Linked DNA regions of Homo sapiens: region 1 is linked to region 2. Evidence: promoter capture Hi-C in 16 types of primary human blood cells and fetal thymus (Javierre and others, 2016). All regions are on one chromosome and are shown on one strand. Each heading gives the region's core, a stretch centred on a gene start or on the middle of the fragment in contact. The rest is flanking DNA. Distances are from core to core; before and after follow the strand shown.

Region 1 (3,516 bases), core at 4-2,503, 190 kb before region 2:
GGAGGTGACTGCGGGCGACGCCGGGATTTTGGTTTGGGTAACTGGGTAGATGGGGGCGCCATTATCGCGCTTCTCTTGCAGGGGGCCGGTGAAGGTTATACGAGAGGCTCCATCTGTCCTTATTGAAAGTGCTCTTAACGCAGGGACCAGCCGTCTTGCTGACGCCTGGGCCACCGAGCACAGGGACAGGACGGGGTTGCTGGAGGTGAGGATTCCGCGTGTCAGGGGCGGGGATGAAGGAGGAGAAAGTGTTCACTTTTGGACATGTGACGTGATAGCACTGGGCAGAGGGGAGGAAGCTCAGACCTTGGAGCAGTGGGCCAGGCGAGGTGGCCCCTGGTGGGGCAGGGGACGGGTAGGGACAGATCACGGGGCCCACGCAATGGCCAGGGAGGTGGAGGAGCAGTAGGACAGTGTCACAGAGGCAACAGGAGGCTGTCACGGGAGGGAGTGGGTCACAGGCCAAGTGCTGCTGAGGCCTCGGCGGTGTACACAGCACAGCAGGGGGGCGGGGGTACAGGGCCTTCGGTGATGCGGGGGACACCTGAGGGAGGAAGTGAGGAAGGCAGCAGGGCCCCATGTAGTTGGTGTTAACAAGAATAAACAATTAGGGGGCAAGAAATCCCAGGCGGTAGCTGAAAGAAAAACAGAGCCTGGGGTTGCTGTTTAAAGATGGGACAGGTGAGTCCATTCCATAGTCGTTAATGGGAAGGTGCCATCGCAGAGGGGAAGGAGGGCACAAAGGGAGTTGTCAGGGAGGTTGGGACCCAGGCAGCTCTGGCCCAGCGCTCCGGGTGGGCCCCTCCATCAGCGGTGGGGGAGGGTGACGGTGGCCCTGCCTCCCTGGAGATTCTCTGTGAAGGAGGAGGCAGGGAAATGCTCAGTCAGCAGGTGGGTGATGCAGGAACCCACCCACCACAGGCAGGCGGGGCCAGGTCCCCCTGGAGTGGTTTCCTCCTTCAGGTGCAAGCTGGGAGAAAGCAGAGAACTGACTCCATGCAGAGTTGGGATTAAGAGCCCCTGGACAAGGGGCCGAGGCAGTGAAGGACGTCCATCACTCATCTGCCACTATCCTCCTCACATTTAATCCTCACAACACCCCTGTGAGGTAGGTATCATTGCCCCCCTTACAGATGAGGAAACTGAGGCTCACACATGCCCAGGGGCACACAGTCGACAGGACGGGTCTACAGTTCCAACGCTTGGGTTCTCACCCCGACCACACCCCACCCAGGGTGGCCAGAATTCCCTTATAGTAGCAAAAAGACAGCTGCCGCGGACATGAACACACATAGCACCAGCACACATAAAAGCAGCAGCTCAGTGAGCATCTCCCATCCCTGGGTTTCCGGTTCAAGAGCATTTGGGGGCCAGGCGCCGTGGCTCATGCCTGTAATCCCAGCACTTTGGGAGACCGAAGTGGGCGGATCACTTGAGGTCATGAGTTCGAGACTAGCCTGGCCAACATGGTGAAATCCCGTCTCTACCGAAAATACAAAAATTAGCTGGGCGTGGTTGGGTGCTTGTAATCCCAGCTACCCAGGAGGCTGAGGCAGGAGTATCCGGGAGGCGGAGGTTACAGTGAGTTGAGAGTTGAGATCATGCCACTGCACTCCAGCCGGGGAGACAAGAGCAAAACTGTCTCCAAAAAAAAAAAAAAAAAAGCATCTGGGGGACACTTCTGGCCAAGTGGTTCTTTCTTACATTTGCAGAGTAAACAGAAGTGGATGGCAGCAGGGTGTGTTGTGGTCAGCCCGTTCCCAGGGAGAGGCCATGGTCACATGGCCCCAGGCAGGCTCCCCAGGCGTGGGCTGCTGGCTCCCAGGCTCCCTTTCCATGCAGGAGCAGAGTCTCCGTGGCCAGCAGGAAAGCCCAGGGGTCTGCCTCCCTCCCACGGGCCCCCACAGCAGAGCTGCAGTTGGGATCAGCCAGGACACGGCCCCCGACTGCTCTGCTCTTCTGCCTCTTGGTCACCTCAGATGTTACAGAGGACTTGAAGTTTTTTCTGGCTAGCCTATCTGGGAAAATTCTTTTTGCATAAAGTGTGTCAGGATGGCATTGAGGGGCTGGAGTAAGATTTTTGTTTTGCAGGTGAACCTAAATAATGGTGGGAATCTCTTGTTTTTTTAATACCTTCTGTTTTAAGTTTTTCTTTTGTTTTCATCTTGGAAGAAGGAAATTTAGAAATAAGACAGGAAAAGAATGGCCCAGAAATTCAGCACAAAGAGAGGTGTTCACATTGACGCCATCTGTGGGTCACATACGAACGCCTCTGGGACAGAGCTCTAAAACGAGTCACGTGTCGTAGGGAGTGGGCCTGTGGCCAAGGCAGTCCTCGCAGTGTGCAGGGACGCAGGCCCCCTTACCATGGAAGCCCCACCCAGAAGGAAGTGGGTGCCCCATGCAGGCCGAGGTGGATGAGGGGACAGTGGTGTGCTCACAGCTGTCAGCTCCCCACTGAAGCCCCAAACCAGCAGATGTGGGCAGGGGCTCAAGTGGTGTCTGACTACCCAGGTCACACGTGCCTTAAGCGTGAAAGCTGTCAGCTCCCGGCACGGGGCTCTGGTGGGGCTGGGAACACCAGGACACACATGGGCTGAAGCTTCCAGAGACAGTGAGACACGGAAGGGACAGAGAGGTGCCCTCCACACAGTGTGGCCAACTGCTTCCAGGCTAAACTTTCCAAAGAGAGGGATCTGAGCTCTTCACCCTCATTTCAACATTCTGATGGCTTGCACGGGACTCCCGCGGAGACAGAAACTTGGTGGCCGCAAGTCATCCTCTCTGCTCTCTGCGCAAAGGCCTCCATGGTCTATGCAGCGTTCCTATGCTATGCTCCCACCCTTCGCCTCCAGCCCCCTCAGTACACATCCACTGCGGCAAATGTGCTGACACACTTACAGCCTCACAAGGCCCAGGTTCATGTCCTCCTCCTCACTGTGTATGCATAGGTTTATCCGCTTCACCTGTTGCTGGGGAACACTGCTCTCCGGGGGACTTGGGGGACGACACTGTAAACATGACTTCCTGGCCTGATGGTGGCAGGGCTGTGTGTGCGAGTCACTGTCCAGGGACAGCACTGAGGTAGGTTGGGGCAGGGCCCCCAAGCCACCGTCCACGGAGCTTGTGGGACTTGCGGTGCTGACGGAGGAGTACCCTGAGGTCGTGACGTCCTTCCCTGGCTCCCGGCTGGTGCGGACCAGGGGTTTGGGTCCAGGGGTTGCAGGGATCTGGGTGTCCAGCGCCAGTGCCTGTGGGTCCTGGGGTCCCTTGTCCTCTGGACAAGCCTCCTCATCACTGGATTCCTGGCAGCAATGCTGTTCTGGGTTCAGGTAGACCACGGTGACATCGAGGATGCCGCTGGGAGCTGTCACTGCAGGAAGGTTGGTGGGGAGGGAAGTCATGTCACACCCAAGCATCAGGGGAGACCCCCTGCCAGGTCAGGACCCTGAAGTCCAGGTCAAGAATCTTCTACCTTGCTACGGTCCCCTGTGTTACCCTCCTGTGGTGAGAAGC
Region 2 (3,509 bases), core at 191-2,690:
TCCCTTCCTTGCTGCCACGAAGCTGTTCAGACAAAGTCTGAAGCTCAGCGCACCGTCAATCCCTCCACAAATAACCACAGGGCAACGACTGCCTGACAGGCACAGCAGAGAACAAAACCCGCCCTCGGCCGGGGGCGGTGGCTCACGCCTGTAATCCCAGCACTTTGGGACGCCCAGGAGCGAGCACTTTGGGAGGCCAAGGCGAACCTAGGAGCGGATCACGAGGTCAGGAGTTCTCGACCAGTCTGGCCAACATAGTGAAACCCTGTCTCTACCAGAAAAATACAAAAAAAATTAGCCGGGTGTGGTAGTGTGCGCCTGTAATCCCAGCTACTCGGGAGGCTGAGGCAGGAGAATCGCTTGAACCCGGGAGGCGGAGGTTGCAGTGAGCCGAGATCGCGCCGCTGCACTCCAGCCTGGGCAACAGTGCGAGACTCTGTCAAAAAAAAAAAAAAATCCGCCCCGTCAGTGTGGGGAGTTGACGCGGAGCCTCCTGCCTGCACCCCTACAGCGTCACCCCCTCCTCTGTCCCTGCCAGAGGCGCCACCTCTGGACTCTCCCAGGGTCGGACCCTGGTCGACAGTGCTCCCTGCCCGGACCCTGCACCGGCCGATGGATGAAGCCTCGGCGCTGCGCCGTTCACACGCTCCGTGCCGCTGCCGCGAAGCTCGCGCGGGCCTGCGAGCCGGTACCCGGGCCTCCCTTCCCTGCTTCCAGCGAACCTCGGCGCCTGCTGTTCCCCCGCCGGGCGCGCCCTTCCATTCGGGTCTCAGCGGCAGTGTCACCTCCCCGGAGAGGCCCGCCGTTGCACCCCATCTCCCACTCTCAAGCTCGTCGCTCTTCCTGCCCGCACAGCCCGCCTGCCGCGCCCACCCGGTGGAGGTCCGCCTGCCGGGAGGCCGCGTCCACGGGAACACCCCAAACGCCACCAGTGGATTTTGACCGCACGAACGCACGCCCTGCCCCAGCCCGTCTCTCCGAGCTACTTCCGCCCTGCGGGCCCCCACGCCCCGCCACGCACGGCCGCAGAGCCTGCGAACCCCTCCTGTGCTACCACCCCGCCGGCCTCAGCACAGCCCGGCCCGGAGCCCCGCCTCCACCGCCGGCGACAGGGGCCGGAGTCTGCCCGGGCGGGCCCAGTGCGCCCGCGCAAGGAAAGGGGCGGGGCACGGGCGCGTTAACACCCTCCGCGCCGGAGGACGAGCCTCGGTCATCGCGCTGCCCTCCCAGGTTCAACAGGCTACCCATGTGCCCGCTCCAGTAAGCGTGCAACCAGCCCGGTCAGTCCCAGGGACTTTACCGGCTAGGAGACACCTTGAACGTCCCCAGCGCGACTCCCACAAACTGCCTTGACTCTTTAACGCTTCCTCGCTGGCGCCCATTGGGCCAGGCGTTTACGTCATCGCTGCGCGCCGGGCGGCGGCGACTTCCCGCTCCTTGACTCTGACGTCAGAGCGGCGCCGGCCTCGGCGGCTGAGGAAAGCAGGAGGAGGTGGCGGCGGCGGGAAGATGTAAGTTGGGGCGGAATCCGACTGCATCCGTGTTTCGGGGGCTGCCCGGCAGGCCCGGCAGGACGCCTCGTGAAGCCGGTCCACTCCTCAGCCCCGCAGTGCGGCGGTGGCCTGGCAGCGCGGTGCGGGCTCCGAGAAGAAAGAGTGTGGCCCGGGGCGGGCGGAGTGGGAGGTGTCGAGGCCGTGGCCCGGAAGTGGTCGGGGCCGCTGCGGACGGAAGGGCGCCTGTGCTTCGTCCGCTCGGCGGTGGCCCAGCCAGGCCCGCGGGACTCAGACCAGCGGGGAGCGCGGCCTCCGCCCTTGGGGCCCTCCCGCCGGGCCGGAGACCCAAGCCCCCAACGCCAGGCCCTGCCCTGGAAGCGCTCGCGGCCCGGCGCCTGGACGGGGGAGTTGTGAGTGAACGCGGACGGGTAGCGGCGAGGTCGGCGTGTCGGGCCGGTGTCGGCGGGCGCGGAGTTTCTTTGTGGGATGCGGTGGAAGGTCGGCCGATCCCCCCTTCGGAGTCATTAATTCAAACGTGTACTCCGCGAACGTTTCCCGGACTCCCGTGTGCAATTATCGGCGCTAGGCCGTGGGGATACGGCCCACTATGGACCGAGCACGGTGGCCGAGCTCAGTTTGATGGGTTACCCCAGAGGGGCGGATACGGGAAGGTTAAGTTTGTTGGAGGAGAAACGTGGAGTAGGCTTTTTGTCTTGATTCCGCATGAACTGTGCCTGAAATGTACTTTTAAATGGGGAAGGTGCTCTGAAGATTTGTGCCGAAACGCCCTCTCCTCGAGATTTAACTAATTGTTCTCTCCTCTCTCTGGCTGTTGGACGCGCACCTTTCCGGAGGATGGGGGAGGTAACCGAGGTCCTGAGCCGGTACCTGAACTTGGGTGAACAGAGAACCTCAACTTTTGCTTTCTAGCACTCGACCGCACCCAGCAAGGCGTCCGCTTACTCAGTGGTTCTTAGTGTTTGGAGTGCTTAAGAATAACTGGTGGTGTTTGATTTCACCAAGTACATTCGGGCAGATCTTAGTTCTTGGGGGGGTGGGGCTGGAATCTGCGGGTGTGACCTCCACTCTAGGTCTGTGCTGTCCAGCCAAGTAGCCATTGGCCACATGTGGCTGCTAAGCATGTGAAATACAGCTAATCAAGACTGAAATATTAAAACACACACCAGTTTTAGAAGACTAGGAAAAAAGCAAACTTTTATTAGATGTTTATGTTGATTATATGTTGGAAAGATAATATTTTGGATGTGTCAAACGTTAAAAATTAATTTCACCCATTTTTGTGACGTGGCTACTAAGGAATTTCAGGTGATGCTTGTGGCTCCTCACACGGTTTCTATTGGACAGTGCTGCTGCAGGTGATTCGAAGGCGGGTGGGTGCAGGAACCCAGCTGAGAGTTCAGAAATTAGTGTAACTTTGGAGACAAGTGTCTGTGGGGGAAGGAGCCTCCGGACGTGGAGATACAACTCTTGCTCCTAACATTTATCGAGTCTTTAATTAATGCCCTGGGTAACTATAAGGTTGGAACTGTAATTGTCACCATATTGATGATGAGAAACTTGAGAAAGGATAAGTGACTTGTCTAAAATCACACAGTAAAACCTCAAATCAAACCCAGGCCCTCTGGCTCCAGACTCTAAATTATACTCTGAATGATACTCACTGATTGTCCGAGGACACAAAGAGTGTCGAGGCACTATCTGCTGGGTGTCTGCAGAACCTTACTGTTCTAAAGCAAAACATTTTACCCCTGGACAAGAGCAGCAAAGGTGGCGTTCGGCCCTCCTTGGCTCTCATTTGACTGTTCAAAGCCAGGTGCTTTTCTTTCTTGGGTCAGAACGTATTTTCAGCAGCATTTTGAAGCACCCCTGGCGTGCACTGCACAGGGAAACCAGGACCACATTGGTGTGCTGTGTCCTCCTTACCAACTGGCTCTTGGAGAAGGTGAGACAGAAGTAGCTGAGACTCCATTCCTGAGATCTTCACTTAACAACTCC

What was found. Contacts are between HindIII fragments. The CHiCAGO score rates a contact against its expected background, and 5 or more counts as called.
Region 1: a contact is called between a fragment that was not itself captured here and the fragment with the promoter of RNPS1 in region 2, in 3 of 17 cell types (erythroblasts, M1 macrophages and endothelial precursors). The highest score is 7.4, in erythroblasts.

What each region holds. Positions count from the first base shown.
Region 1 is chr16:2,456,402-2,459,917 of GRCh38, reverse strand. CCNF (cyclin F) reads right to left here. Exons shown (of 17, transcript NM_001761.3): 17 at 1,064-3,373. The coding sequence ends at 2,898. LOC105371050 (a long non-coding RNA gene) reads left to right here. Exons shown (of 5, transcript NR_188689.1): 1 at 1-4; 2 at 82-205; 3 at 964-1,108; 4 at 2,952-3,084; 5 at 3,333-3,516. Among named protein-coding and RNA genes, the nearest start is that of TEDC2, 1.9 kb to the left of the region's middle. RefSeq lists enhancers at 201-290, 521-1,335. The HindIII fragment of the contact is 2,703 bases long and covers 1-2,604 here.
Region 2 is chr16:2,266,057-2,269,565 of GRCh38, reverse strand. It overlaps RNPS1 (RNA binding protein with serine rich domain 1), which reads left to right and starts at 1,440. Exons shown (of 8, transcript NM_080594.4): 1 at 1,440-1,511. It overlaps MIR3677HG (MIR3677 and MIR940 host gene), which reads right to left and starts at 903. Exons shown (of 3, transcript NR_132988.1): 1 at 723-903. RefSeq lists a silencer at 793-1,242 and an enhancer at 1,373-1,632. The HindIII fragment of the contact is 12,073 bases long and covers 1-3,509 here.